Linked DNA regions of Homo sapiens: all the other regions are linked to region 1. Evidence: promoter capture Hi-C in 16 types of primary human blood cells and fetal thymus (Javierre and others, 2016). All regions are on one chromosome and are shown on one strand. Each heading gives the region's core, a stretch centred on a gene start or on the middle of the fragment in contact. The rest is flanking DNA. Distances are from core to core; before and after follow the strand shown. Region 1 holds the start of KIAA1586. Region 2 overlaps PRIM2 (DNA primase subunit 2). Region 3 overlaps PRIM2 (DNA primase subunit 2). Region 4 overlaps PRIM2 (DNA primase subunit 2). Region 5 overlaps PRIM2 (DNA primase subunit 2).

Region 1 (2,904 bases), core at 234-2,733:
GCAAAGCCTTTCTAAAACTCCAACAATTATGGATGAAAATCACCCCAAAATATATCATAAAACACTCCCTTCTGCTTTAGAAACCCATTCTGTCCAAAGTGTGCTCAGAAATCCTTATGTCCCTGCACTTGTCTGAAAATGAAGATTCCTAGGCCCCCGCCTGGAAATTCTGATTCGGTAGGTCTGCAGTGGGGCCCAGGAATCTGCCTGTTTATACTTACTAAGGCTTGAAAACTACTGTCTCAAAGGGAACAAACTCAGAAAAATAGAGCATGTTCCCAGTGATGTAGGATTCTTCATTATGAGCATCAACTGTACTATGCCGTAACATGATGATCTCAGAGGTTAGAGAAATCTTCAAGCTATTTGCCTTCATGTTAGAAGCACCATAACGCTAAGATTCTGGGCTCTCACAACCCTTCCTGTTTTCTACGTCCTTGCTCATCATTAGCAGCTCCTTCCTCCGTGTCGCCTTTAGAAGTTACTCTTGCTCCATTTCAAAACAGCGTTTTAGACACCAGCGTTTTTATCTTAAGTTTAAATGAAAGGCAGGGGGCGAGATTAAGTGTACAGCACGTTCTTTAGGACGTGCTCTTTGTGATGGCTACGGGGGTGGCTCAGATAGCTCTTTTGGTAAATTTCCCAATCCTGCGCCATGCTCCAGTGTCTAGTATGTATTAGACACTCATGAACATTAAATGACCAGGTGAGGTAACATTACATAATGGCCCACCATAGTCTTTTACTCTGGGAAAACCCCAATCATCATTGCTACTTACACTGACAAACTGAATGTCGTCTTCATTTTCATCCGTTGTTGACTCAGATGCCTCAGGGCCAGCTGGAGGGACAGATTCTATTATCTATAAAAACAAGCCAAAACATGCTTATCTGTTCAGCCACATTCGTGTAGGAAGAGAGCGTTTCCGAAAGGAACAATTAAAGACAGAGAGCTCTTGAGGAAAACGAACTGAGCACAATTTCACGGAAACCCGACTAGGAACGGAACTCGAGCTCTGGCTCTTGCCACAGAGTGTGCGGAGCTGCAGGGACCCAACGCTGAAAACGCGTTAGTTACCAGCCTCTCACAATTCCCCTTATCTACTCCAGGAGGAACGCAAGCTCAACACCGAAGGGCAATCCTGCCTTAAAACGTCGCTCCCACTGGCCCAGCCGCGGCCACAACGAACGCCAGGGCCCGTGCGGGGGGCCGGGCGGCCATTGTTGCTGCGGGTTCCTCGCTCAGACACGCACCAGGCCCCAGAGCTGGGCTCGGCCCAAGACACTGAAGAGGTATCGCCCCGAGGCTGCGACGGAGCACCAGGCCTCAGACCGCAGAAAACACAAACCCTTCGCGGTTCGCCTCTGAGAACGCCAGGACCCTCACTCGACTACTCACTTCCGACCCCGGGTCTCCCATGTCTCCGACGGCCGCGCTGACAGCACCACTGCTCCTGCTGTCCCTACTGCCGCAGCCGCCACCACTCCCCTTCCCGCCCTGCACCGCCTCGCGCTACCGGGACCCGCCCCTGCGTGAGCTGGGAGGCCACTGGCGGAAAGAGACGAAAACCGCTTCAAAAGAGGGGCAGCCCTCACTGGTCCGCTATCTCCCCGGAGCCTCTTTCTCTCATTCCCGGGCTTCCTTCCCCGCGCCGCAGAGGATGCTGGGATGGTAGTTCCTACCCGCCGCGCGACCGCGCCGCGCGACTGCCCCGCGCGTGGGTGAAGAATGGAAAAAGACTCTGAGCTACAGCGAAGTCGTCTCCCTTCGGTGTTGCTCTACTATAATAAAATAGCCGAGTTCTTTCTCTCACTTTTTCACAACCAAATATTCGTCTATGTAATAGATCAATGGGAATGAAAAAAAATTGTGTGTGATTTGCTCAGAAATTGCCTTACCAAAATCGTGGCTCACCTTTTTATTTTAACATTTATTCACAAATGATTTTAAACATGAAATTTATGAAAGCAAATTTTAACAGAGAATATTCTTTTAAAGCTTTTATTTGTTTACCTCTATCAGCCTAGGACCACCTGTTATTGACAAGTCTGTAGTCCCAGAAAATCACCTTTATCATTTTGACCCTGATCTACAATGCACAAAATTATACAACAAAGGAGCTATGAGGTATCTGATTAGCCAACTGATCTTCAGCAAAGCAAACAAAAACATAAAGTGGGGAAAGGACACCCTTTTCAACAAATGGTGCTGGGATAATTGGTGACCCACATGTAGAAGAATTAAACTGGATCCTCATCTCTCACCTTATACAAAAATCAACTCAAGATGCATCAAAGACTTAAATCTAAGACCCGAAGTCATAAAAATTGCTCAAGATAACACCGGAAAAATACCTTCTAGACATTGGCTTAGGCAAAGACTTCGCGATGAAGAACCCAAAAGCAAATGCAACAGAAACAAAGATAAATAGACTGAACTTAATTAAACTAAAAAGCTTCTGCACAGCAAAAAAAATAATCAGCAGAGTAAACAGACAACCCACAAAGTGGGAGAAAAGGAGAACATAGGAACAAAGGAAAACATAGACTTACTAGGATTTTAAGGAGTTGGTGAAATTTAAGTGAAGCAGTGTTTTGATAGGTTCAAAACCGTCTAGTGCTGTGTGTAAAGGGTTCAACATCACATACGGACTGCATAGCGAGCCCAGGGTCTTGTTAACTTCAAAACTACAAAGTTAACACACACAGAGTATTGTGCTCAGAAACCCCTTCCTCCGTGTAGCCATGCCCTAAGTGTGTGGATTTATTTCTGGGTACTGTATTCTGTTCCATTTGTCTGTGTGTCTGTTTTTATACCAGTACCATGCTGTTTTGGTTACTATAGCTCTGTAGTAGAATTTGAAGTCATGTAATGTGATTCCTCCAGTTTTGTTCTTTTTGCTC
Region 2 (2,904 bases), core at 127-2,626, 370 kb before region 1:
TGGTGAAACTTTGTCTCTACAAAAATACAAAAAGTGGGTGCCTGTAATCCCAGCTACTTGGGAGGCTGAGGTGGGAGAATTACTTGATCCAGGAGGCAGAGGTTGCAGTGAGCCGAGATCACACCATTGCATTCCAGCCTGGGCGACTGAGAGAGACTCCATCTCAAAAAAAAAAAAAAGAAAGAAAAGAAATACTTTTGAATTTAATGTCTTCTATTTGACTACATAAATTAATGCAAAAAAAAGAGTTCTATAAATTTAAACTGTACGTTTGATGAAATGTCATAGCTCAAATTATAATGCAAGATATATTTTTAAGACTGGTACAGTCAAGATCCAGTCTTGTAGATAATAAACTTATAAATTAAGACTGACATCTTTTGAATCTTTCATCTGGTTCTAGTATCTTACATCTATTCTAGATGATTATTTTGAAGCCAGAATTCAAGGAGCACAGACTTTGATTTTCAGCAGATAAATTCTATCAGAATATCAAATGTAAAGAGACTGCTCTTTGAATGGAGAAAAGAAAAGCATACAAAGACAGTACTTCAAAATACAGAAAAATGAAAATCTTGAGTGGCAGAGACTCTAACCACCAATAGTCAAGCTTCTCATTTGGCAACATAAGAGGAAGTGGGATGGAAAGCTGAAATAAAAGGAAAGACAGCATGCAAATAGCTATCACTGAATAGTCTGGCAAAAATGTAAAGCAAGGTCAAACTGTTAACAATGATCATTGTAATACTTACAAAAGAAAACTCACATTCACAATAAAAACACAGATGTCACAAACATTTAAAATTCTCTAACATTTGCTTACAGCTTACATAATAAGGCTTAATGAACACTAAAATTGTAAAGCAAAATATTTTCCCAAGTTTTGCATACTAGAGAGCTGTTGCTTCATTAAAACAAAAGAATTTGATATATCAGTGCCATTACTCAAATAGACAAACTTAACAACTAGCCTGATAAAAATCTGTTAAGGAAAAAGATAGGGGTTGTGTCTCTGGTTTCAAACTTTATTTTGTGATTTGGGCTCTAAATATGTCTAATAAAATTTTTGACTCAAATTTTATTTAATCTCTTTTGTTCCAGATATTACTTTAGTCCTTTATTCACCACTGTAAGGTTTTGTTCTATTTTCTATGACTTTCTTGAAAATCACTAAATACAATGGCCTCTTCTCAGTCTTCATACTCCTGACTATCTGCTCCTTGGTCTACCATCTTTGAGCTTCTCTGAGTGCTCTTCCATCCTTCTAGAAGATTCGTTTTCAGATTTCTTCACTGTCTCCTTCCACCATCTGCCCTGTAATTGTGAAAAGCCTCTCCTTTCTCCCCATTTCATGCTGCTACCCTTAGTACTCTAATCCAATTTCAATGCAACCTTGAATAACTGTCACTACTATCCCTGATCTCTTTTCTGAATGCTAGAATTACATTTCCAATTACATGCCAGATATCTCCACAAGTGAATATTTCTATGGCATCTCAAAGTAAACATGTCCAAAACTAAAATCATTGTTCCATACCCTCCAACATCCAAACAGACCTACTATCAACATAGTTATTTTCCTTCCTCCTCCAATTCACCCCAAAATACAATCTGATACCAAGTCCCCATGGATTTTGGATCAATTCTTAGCCATCCTGGCAGATATCAAAAAGCCTCTGTCTTCATTTTGCTGCCTTATCTTCTAATCAACCCAGGACCAGCTAAGATTGTTAGCTGAACATGGAAGAAGCTGACTAGCAGAAAATGAGTTTATTAAAAGGCTACTAGGAAGCTCACAGAATTGTTGGGAAGATGAAATATTATTCTTTTTTTTTGAGATGGAGTCTCCCTCTGTCACCCAGGCTGGAGTGCAATGGTGCAATCTCAGCTCACCGCAACCTCCGCCTTCTGGGTTCAAGGGATTCTCCTGCCTCAGCCTCCTGAGTAGCTGGGATTACAGGTGCACGCCACCACACCCAGCTAATTTTTGTATTTTTAGTAGAGACAGGGTTTCACCACGTTGGTCACATTGGTCTTGAACCCCTGACCTCGTGATCTACCCGCCTTGGCCTCCCAAAGTGCTGAGATTACAGGCACGAGCCACTGTGCCTGGCCAAAAAACTATTCTTAAAGTTAAGCTTCCAGGCTCAAAAGAGGAACTAATTAGTTCTAAAACAGGACTAATTATTAATAGAAAATGGCCATCACTGCTGTTTAGCATCCCACAGAGTACTAAAGAAAACCACTCCCACTGTGGGAAATCAATCTAGCAACCACCAAAAAGACACTGCTGCCACCAAAGGCAGAAAGTCTCTGCTCACATCCACCACTGCCACCACCAAACACAAAAGCTCGATGAAGATTCTGTTTCCTCAGTTCCAAATCAAAGTCCTGTTCTGTTTCCTCAGTTCCAAATCAAAGTCCTGTGAGAGGTGAGTCTAATCAACGAAGTATAAGTCATATGCTTATGATCTGGTTACAAAAGAGAATGAGAATTTGAGTGCTGTCTTCTATATTGGTGGGAGTAACACTTACATTAGCAAGACATTTTATTTATTAAAAAAAAATTCCCAAATGTAAGACTTTATTCAAAAACCGAGGGTTAAATATGAATGCAACCACTACTACATACTACCCCTCCCTCCTGCCCTCATCTCCAATCCTATAATAAATTCATACAAAATCATACCAGAGTCTGGTAAATATATATTAACAGAATTGCTGGAACTGGACCCAGTCTCTAGCTCAGAGTATTTGGCTGGAGCCCAAATTCCCTGCCTGCATGATGCCAGCCACTATGCCCTAGGAAACCACACCTTGTTCCTAAGACCAGTAAATACTCCCTCCCTTTGTCATAGCTGGTTCCTCCTCCACACAGTACAGACCACCAAAAACCTCCTCAAT
Region 3 (2,904 bases), core at 114-2,613, 340 kb before region 1:
TTACATATTTTTCTCGGAGTCTTCTACATCTTGGCAAAGGCATCACCCCCTAATAAATTATTCAAGCCAAAATTCTAGGCAGTGTAATATAATGGTCAAGAACATAGACCTTGATGCCAGACTGTATGGATTCAAATCCTGCTTCTGCTCCTCACTACCTGTATAAAGATACTACAAGCCTCAGAGAGTGATAATGGTACCTGCCTTATAGGGTTACCATAAAGACTAAATGCATTAATTCATATAAAGCATTTAGAATAGCACTTGGCAAATATTAAATTTTCACTATGCTTAAGCTCTCATCATCATCATCATTATGCTGATTCTTCTCTTTCTCTCACAACCAATCCACCATGTCAATATTACTTTAAAAACTAACTGAAATCCACTGACTTCTGTCAGTCATATCACCACAACCAATCCATTTCAAGCCACTATCTAGATTAATGTGAAAACTTCCAGACTAGTCCTCCCGCTTCCATTCCTTTTTTATCCTCCAAAATGGCTTTCAAGCAGCAGCCACAGTCATCTATTTAAAACATAAATCAGATCATATCACTCACTTATTCAAAATCATCCAATGTCTTTCAACTACATTAGGCTAAAAAAAAATCAAACTCTTTACCCTGGGACTCTACCTCAAAGTCTCACAGAGTCTACACCTAGCCATTGCAGCCTCACATGGTAGCACTCTACCGTAGCTCACTATGCTCTAGCTACACTGGCCTTTTTGATTCTAAAAAAAAAGGCCAAGATTCCTCCCTTTGGGGGCCTTTGCATTAGTGACTTTTCCTGCCTGGAATGCAGTTTCCTCTATATTTGTTCAGCTGGCTCCTTCATGTCATTTACAATATTGTTATTGTTTATTTCTTCAGTAATTGTCTGTCTCCCACTAGAATATAAGCTTTGTAAGAGAAGAAATCTCATCTAATTTGTTAAGTAGTATCTCTAGTACCCAAACCTATGCATGGATGAACAAATAAAAAGTTATTTAAAAATAAACCATTAAATAAAAGAACTGGCTATAGCTTCTAAAATTGCCATATGAAGCAAAAAAAATCTATCTTTCCCTCATTCTTTTCCCTAACTGGTTATCAATCTATTCTACCGTAGCTCCAAATTCACCCCTTGGGCCTGCTCTGTGACTGGACCTTAATATACTTACCTTTGAATATTTTATCAGAGTTTGAAGACCTAAATCACCTGGTTATACAACTCCTGACAAAGGCACAGTTACCATCAAAAGACCCTAAGAATTACAATCAGAAAACCTGAGATCAAGTCAGGGCTCCAGCAATTATTAGCCAACATAATCTTAGACAAATTACTTTGGCCTCTCTGTGCTGCATTTTCCTCATCCATATAATGCACATTATAACCCCTTTCTCTCTCAGTGACTTATAGTGGGATTAACAGTATGTATAAACAGTAAACTGTGAACAAAAGCAAGTTTATATCATTATTTGGTATCTGTCAGTTCAATAAAATTTTACTGACCACTAACCCTATGTGCCACATGCTATACCAGATAAAAATTTGAATTAAGAGAAATTCCTCACTCTCAAAGAACTTACATTTTAATTGAGGAGGAAAACACATAATGAGAATAATTTCACCGTAATTTGGTCGTGTGCAGAATGCTGTGGGAACACAAAGGAGATATACTTAGCACAATCTTGGGACTTAAAGGGAAGGTTCTGGGCCACAGAGTTCCTATCAAAGGAAAAAGTAATGTCAATTTTTTATCAGTCCTAAACCATGTTCAAAAGCTAGATAGTCATATTATAAAAGTCATATGGTCACAGGTTAAGAATAAGCTTTCAGTTGTCACCTGGGGTAAAACTCTCATCAATTTACAACTTCCCCCAGAACCATTTATTTCATCCTCTACCACTCATCAAAATACCTTTCAAAAAATCTACTTTAGGGTACTTTTTCTTATCCTACAAGAATATTTCCATTTATAAAGCTGAAAGTTTTCAATTACATACTCCAAGGTCAAAACCTTCCTCAATGGAAAGGACAGTAATAAAGAGACCATAGCAATAGGTTTAGATTTCTACTTCGCCACAGCCCTAAATGAACTCCTTCGCTTCCCTCCTGCTCCTTTCCACAGCTGTCAGGACAGGCTCCCAGGCAACAACTCCCACCACTCTCCTACATAAGAAAAAGTGTTCTCTGGACCTCCTCTCAACCAGGCTCGGCCCTGAACCACCCAGGAGAAAGCAAGTCACTGTCTGTCTTCTATTAAATCCAAGACACCAAGGCCAGAACTCTCCACAACCCACCTGTAATCAGGACAAATCCTTTTCTTTCTTTCTTTCTTTCGTTCTTTTTTTTTTTTTTTTTTTTTTGAGACAGGGTATCACTCTGTCGCCCAAGCTGGGGTGCAATGGCATGATTATAGCTCATTGCAGCCTTGATCTCCCAGGCTCAAGTGATCCCCCCACCCCAGCCTCCCAAGTAGCTGGGACTACGGGCACATGCCACCACGACTGGCTATTTTGTTGTTGTTGTTGTTGTTGCTGTTGTTGTTGTTGTTGTTTTTAGTAGAGACTGATTCTCACTATGTTGCCCAGGCTGGTCTCAAACTCCTGAGCTCAAGCAATCCTCCCACCTCCTCCTCCCAAAGGACGAGGGTTACAGGTGTGAGCCACCCCACTCAGCCAGAATAAATCCATTTAAAGTAAATCTAAATCCATTAAAGCTGTACACAGATATACTCAATACCCTACAATTCCATTCCTAAACACATAACCAACAGAAATATGTTTTCCAAAATATGTGCTACAATGTTCAGAGCAGCAGTATTTGTGATAACCAAAAAAAAAAAAAGAAAACAAAAGCCAAATGCCTATCAACAATAGAATGGATAAATTTTGATAAAGTCAATCAGAATTGGGC
Region 4 (2,904 bases), core at 163-2,662, 320 kb before region 1:
GTGGAACAATTATAAAAGCAGAGTAAAGTAGTAGAGAGAATAGTTTTCAAAATCATAGAAACCTGTCTTTGAATCTTAAACAGGTTAGTTAACCTCTTTACACCTTAGTTTCTTCAGGGATAAAATGAAGAAAATCATACCTATCTCATGTAGCTTTTCTTGGGATTAAATAAAGTATGTAAAGTGTGTACAATAGGCCTAACATACAGCACACCCTTAGTACATGGTAAACACTTGTTGTTACTACCTGTAATTTACATTTTGATTAGTTTCTGTATTTCAGGCTTTTTCCTCAAGTAATAAAGTGAAATGTTTACTGCAACTAATGCAGTTTCTATAAACTTGTCATTTCATTAAACTAACACAGGTCTTGGTGTATAGGGGAATTCAAAATAACTGATAAAAGCCAGCTAGGTTATCACTGCAACATCTTATAATCAAGGTGTAGTATGCTTCACAAAGTAAACATCCTCCTAAAAAGAGGTGTATAAACAAATGGCTCAACATGAAACACACATTTTTTGAGTGACTTACATTACTATTTTAGAGATGCTCAACCTTCACTCTGATTAATGTCCAATCAACAGAGACTCTGAACATTCTAGCTTTGAAGTTCTGCTCTTGCCACTACTACTCATAATTCCCCACATCTCAATCCCTATTATTCATATCCACCCACTCAACAGTCAGTACCTGAATGTTTCAAATGGTAGCACATGGTATAACGGTATAGTTTTTTATCAAGTAAAAATTACACTGGGTTTTAACTGTTTTGGCAAAGTTATATTTCCATATTCCAAAATTATGTTGTTTTATATGCTGCCTTGCTAACAGAATTAAGGATTTTGGCTGTGTGTCTTTTTCTTTTTTATATTCTTCATCAAACCAGGAACTGAGAGAGGCAATTTCACTCTGTTGAAATCCTGAAAGCAGATTAAGGAGCAGCTCTAGAGAGGCAAATACTCTACACAGTAAATAGAAGGGTAGTGGATGTCTGTGTAGACTGTATCGCTATTCACCCTGTACTGAGTCCCTCACTGAGGGAGAATTATACACCCCCTACCTGCTGAACTAAAGTGTAGCCAAGTGACTTGCTTTGGCCAGTGAAATGTGAGTGGAAGTGACGTGTGTTATTCCTAAGCAAAAGCTTTCTGAGCATGTATTTTACCCAGTTCTCTCCTCCTTTTGCCGCAGCAACTGGTGAAGTTCCGGTATACAGAGCCTACTCGATCTGCCTGAGTCCAGGGACAAAATGACACACAGCAGGGTTGTAGCTGGCCCATGAAGACACAGAATATGAACAAGGAACAAACCTTTCTATAAGTCACTGAGGTTTGGGGGTCGTTACCAATGCATAAACTAAACTGACTGGAACAGTGACCTTCATCTTTGCATCACACATTGTCATCAATGAAGTTTTTTCAGCACATACTTCCAATATATGTATATTTATTTATAAATTATATGTATGTATTACTGTACATTCTGCACTTAAAACATGCCATACCCATCCCCAAAATGTGGAACGGATGAGACTAAAAATATATGTTGTATTATTTATTTCTTTCCCACATTCCCAAATGATCATCTTGGGGATGCCATGTTGGAACCACTAGTCTAGTACACTGGCATCAAAAGTAAAGATATAAATAAGGCTTCCCAGAGATTTAAGCTTCTATAAGCTTCCAATCAACAATACTCAATCACATTTATAAATAGTTTGGATAGTTTCTATTTGAATCTACAGAGCTTTCTTAGACCCTGGTCATTAAGTAAGTATGTACATTACTTGCCAGTGAAGCTTTTTAAAATTACAGATTCCTGGTGCCACCCAGACCTACAGACTGAAGCCCTGAGCTGTATGTTTTTTTTTAAGGTCCATTAGTGGTTCGACATACATCACTGGTCTAAACAGCATATCCCAGGAAAAGAATCCGCTTTTCTAAAATAAATGTATGATATATATATGATATATATAAAACAATTAGGAATCATTTCATTTATAAAGAAATTAAAACTGTGAATAGATCAAATGCTGAAAGCAAATATCATAATTTTTAATACTGTTATTATCATTTCAAATAAATATAGGTTCTATATTGGTAGCAAATACTGTGATTATAAAGGGCAATTTGTTTCCCAAATGCACTGTGATGTAATCATCAATCTGGAGTACATGGGGATTAAAGATGGCTGCAAAGTCTTTGACACATCCTCCGTTGAGAGCTAAGATCTATTTGCCCTCCCCTTGAATCTGGCCTGGCCTGTGACTACTTTGACAGGAACGAGTGATGCCCTGCCAGGCCCAGGCCTATTTTTTGAGAGGACTGGCAGATTCTGCCTTGTTCACTTGGAGTCCTAGATCATGAAGTAAGAAGTCCAACCACCTCGTTTGAGGGATCACATGGAAAGGCGTCCAGCAGAGTCCAGCCTTTTAGAAGTCCTCACATATGCACAAGCATGTGAGTAAAGCTGTCTTAGACATCCTAGACCAGACTAGTTGTCAACTAAGAAAGCCCATATATAATACTATGTGGAACAGAACAATTGCCCTGTAAGCCCATTCTGAATCCCTAACCCTCGAAAGTGTGAGATATAATAAGATGGGTACTGTTTTAAGTTTTAGAATTAAGTTTTGATTTTAAGTTTTAATGTTAGGTTTTGGAATTGTTGTTTTAGGTTTGGAGGTATTTCTGACACAGTGATAAATAACCCAAATATTTATCAACCTAAAATAAGTTAGTTTTAAACATTTTTTTCTATCTGTAATCCAGTTCTTACAAAGTACTTTCTTCATTTAAATGTATAAAGGAGAGCCATATAATAGGAAAAAATTTTAATTGGAAAATCTTTAACAAAGAGACAAAAATAGAAAATAAAAAAGGAAATAATTACCACTCTGTG
Region 5 (2,904 bases), core at 163-2,662, 300 kb before region 1:
ATAATTAGAAACAGTTTAGTTTTTTGGTTTCTGGGTTTCTGTTGTTGTTCACATGAATATAAAAAGTCAAAAAGGAGGCCAGGCATGGTGTCTCACGTCTGTAATCCCAGCACTTTGGAAGGCCGAAGCAGGCAGATCACCAGGTCAAGAGATCAAGACCATCCTGACGAAAATGGTGAAAACCCGTCTCTACTAAAAATACAAAAATTAGCTGGTCGGGGTGGCACACACCTATAGTCCCAGCTACTTGGGAGACTGAGGCAGATAATAGCTTGAACCCGGGAGGCAGAGGTTGCAGTGAGCCGAGATCGCGCCACTGCACTTCAGCTTGGCAACAGAGAGACTCTGTCTCAAAAAAAAAAAAAAAAAAAAAGGGCAGGAAGGATGTGGGAAAATCTGTGGTTGTACAGAACTACTCAGTGCACTGTAAATGCACCAGCATCCCCATCTCCTGTCTACTAAACACCTGTTGGACTTGCCAATCATTTTTACAAACACCAAAAATACCATAAAGATGGCCAAAATATCCAGCAGGGGTGACTATAACCCCTATAGTCCAGAACTACTGGACTGAACCAACAAGCCATCCTTGTGAAAGGCTCAGTTTGAAACAGTAGGCTTTCCTCTATGGCATCTCTCTTGTGAGATAGTAAAAAAAACCAACTCAAGTCCATAACTTTTCTTTTCCTGGCCTATTAAAATAATGACTCCCACTTCAAGTACAAAATCTACTGCCTGATAAAACTTAATTTAAAATTTTAAAAATATATTTTTTACCTACTGCCTGGATTTTGATTTACACTGATCTTTGAATATTATACATGAGTTAATTGTTGAACATGAACTAAAATATACAATGTGATCTGAAAAATGTTTTTAAAAAGATAAACAAAAGGTAGCAGAGAAGAAAAACAAAAAGGGCATAGAAAAACTACGGGCTAGAAAACAAACCCCTCAACGACTAAGTTGGATGAATATAATGTTTTCCCTAGAGATGGCAATATTATACCGAGAAAGCTACCAATGGTATATTTAATATATTTGGTTTCCATTCCTGCCAACAACTGTCAGCTAAAATGAAACATCTCAGTAAAATTATAGTTAATGCTTTAATTTCCGAAACTAATGTAAATCTCTAAACTCACACCTGTGTTTGTATAGCACTTTTGATGGGCCCTGTCACCTTAAATGTCAGCATCTATTCCACTTCATTTCAATAGTTAAGCTGTGAAGAAATCTACTCATATATTTAGTAACATGCTTTGTGACTTATACATCTCTAAATATTTAGAAGACTAATTTTAAGGAAAGTTACTTAACCTGTCTGAGCTTCAGTTTCCTCATGGAGCTGTTGTGAGGATTAAATTACATAAACCTGGCTGGTCACAGTGACTCACACCTGTAATTCCAGCACTATGGGAGGCCAAGTTGCAAGGATCACTTAAGGCCTGAAGTTCAAGACCAGCCTAGGCAACACAGTAAGAACTTATTTCTATAAAAGAAAAAATTAGCCAGGCAGGGTGGCATGCGCCTGTATTCCCAGCTACTTGGGAGGCTGAGGTGGGAGGATCACTTCAGCCCAAGAGTTCAAGGCTGCAGTGAGCTGTGATCACACCACTGCACTCCAGCCTAGGCGACAGAGCAAAACTGTCTCTACCACAGAAGAAGAAGTTAAATTTTTTTACCCATGTGAAGTATTTACCAAAGTGCCTGGCACTTAACAAACACATTACAAATGTTAGCTATTAGTGATAATCTCTCCTCAGTCTCCTTATATCACCAGATAAATCTAAACCTTAATAAGTCCACTACTTATACAGTCATCAATAAATATTCCTCCTTTAGAAAACAAGGACCCCATCCAAGTCTGGAAACAGTCCTCTGGGTTTTCCAATATTCATACAGAAGCCTTATTCCTTGGACCAACTAAAGGGAATTGGAATATATTTGGCTATTAAGCTCCAAGATAACAGAAGGATTCTCCTGGAATGGGGAGAGCACACTTTGACCAGAGATGAACAGGAAACAAAGCCAGACAGGAGGCAGGTATCAATAGCCGAAGTACAGCACAAGGTATTTGAAAGTCATGGAGATAAACAAACAGAAGCAAGCAGAGAATAAATGGAGACAAGTCCAGAATAGGGGTATTAACTGTGCTGTTGTCCTTTGTATGCCTTCAGAGGGGTGGGGAGTAGCAGAATGGATATATTCACAGGGCCTGGACCAAATGGATTTGTTACGCAACTACTTCCTCCTCCCTTTGTAACTCAGATTAAGCCACTCAAAGACTGAGAACACAAAATGATTACCTTTACAACTCCATTTGCCCTCCACATCCCTGGTTCTTATTCTCATCCAAAAGACCTAGGATAAGGCAATCTGACCTAGACTCTGAACTAGACCATGACACAAGACTTCAGCCAAAAAGAATTAACTTTTCAGGGAACTTGGAGGAAAGAGGGAAAGATTATAAAGATTATGGAATTTTTAAAAATGTATACATGGCTGGGCGTGGTGACTCACGCCTGTAATCCCAACACTTTGGGAGGCCGAGGTAGGCGGGTCACAAGGTCAGGAGTTCAAGACCAGCCTGACCAATATAGTGAAACCCCGTCTCTACCAAAAATACAAAAATTAGCCAGGCATGGTGGTGGGCGACTGTAATCCCAGCTACTCGGGAGGCTGGGGCAGGAGAATCATTTGAACCCAGGAGGCGGAGGAGGTTGCAGTGAGCTGAGATCATGCCATTGGACTCCAGCCTGGGCGACAGAGTGAGACTCCGTCTCAAAAAAAAAAAGTATACATTTAAAAGCTCAGTATCTTTTTTCAGAACACCTTCAGAAACCATGAGTAACACTGCCAAAAGACTCTAGTAGAGCGAGAGCAACTCCATCTTGAACAAAG

Evidence for each region. The method cuts DNA at HindIII sites, captures the fragments that hold promoters and counts their contacts. A CHiCAGO score of 5 or more calls a contact.
Region 2: a fragment that was not itself captured here is called in contact with the fragment with the promoter of KIAA1586 in region 1 in 1 of 17 cell types (non-activated CD4 T cells); the score reaches 6.0 in non-activated CD4 T cells.
Region 3: a fragment that was not itself captured here is called in contact with the fragment with the promoter of KIAA1586 in region 1 in 3 of 17 cell types (activated CD4 T cells, total CD4 T cells and non-activated CD4 T cells); the score reaches 7.2 in activated CD4 T cells.
Region 4: a contact is called between a fragment that was not itself captured here and the fragment with the promoter of KIAA1586 in region 1, in 2 of 17 cell types (total CD4 T cells and activated CD4 T cells). The highest score is 5.5, in total CD4 T cells.
Region 5: a fragment that was not itself captured here is called in contact with the fragment with the promoter of KIAA1586 in region 1 in 4 of 17 cell types (activated CD4 T cells, total CD8 T cells, total CD4 T cells and 1 more); the score reaches 7.2 in activated CD4 T cells.

Annotation. Positions count from the first base shown.
Region 1 is chr6:57,045,272-57,048,175 of GRCh38, reverse strand. KIAA1586 reads right to left here and starts at 1,483. Exons shown (of 4, transcript NM_020931.4): 1 at 1,400-1,483; 2 at 780-863. The coding sequence starts at 1,420. RefSeq lists enhancers at 18-895, 1,712-1,801 and a silencer at 2,431-2,725. The HindIII fragment of the contact is 6,924 bases long and covers 1-2,001 here.
Region 2 is chr6:57,419,434-57,422,337 of GRCh38, reverse strand. The region is part of intron 7 of PRIM2 (DNA primase subunit 2); the gene reads right to left. Among named protein-coding and RNA genes, the nearest start is that of MIR548U, 31 kb to the right of the region's middle. The HindIII fragment of the contact is 1,528 bases long and covers 613-2,140 here.
Region 3 is chr6:57,385,868-57,388,771 of GRCh38, reverse strand. All of the region lies in intron 7 of PRIM2 (DNA primase subunit 2), which reads right to left. Among named protein-coding and RNA genes, the nearest start is that of MIR548U, 2.8 kb to the left of the region's middle. The HindIII fragment of the contact is 913 bases long and covers 907-1,819 here.
Region 4 is chr6:57,367,254-57,370,157 of GRCh38, reverse strand. All of the region lies in intron 5 of PRIM2 (DNA primase subunit 2), which reads right to left. Among named protein-coding and RNA genes, the nearest start is that of MIR548U, 21 kb to the left of the region's middle. The HindIII fragment of the contact is 525 bases long and covers 1,150-1,674 here.
Region 5 is chr6:57,346,217-57,349,120 of GRCh38, reverse strand. The region is part of intron 5 of PRIM2 (DNA primase subunit 2); the gene reads right to left. Among named protein-coding and RNA genes, the nearest start is that of PRIM2, 30 kb to the right of the region's middle. RefSeq lists an enhancer at 1,666-2,166. The HindIII fragment of the contact is 8,245 bases long and covers 1-2,904 here.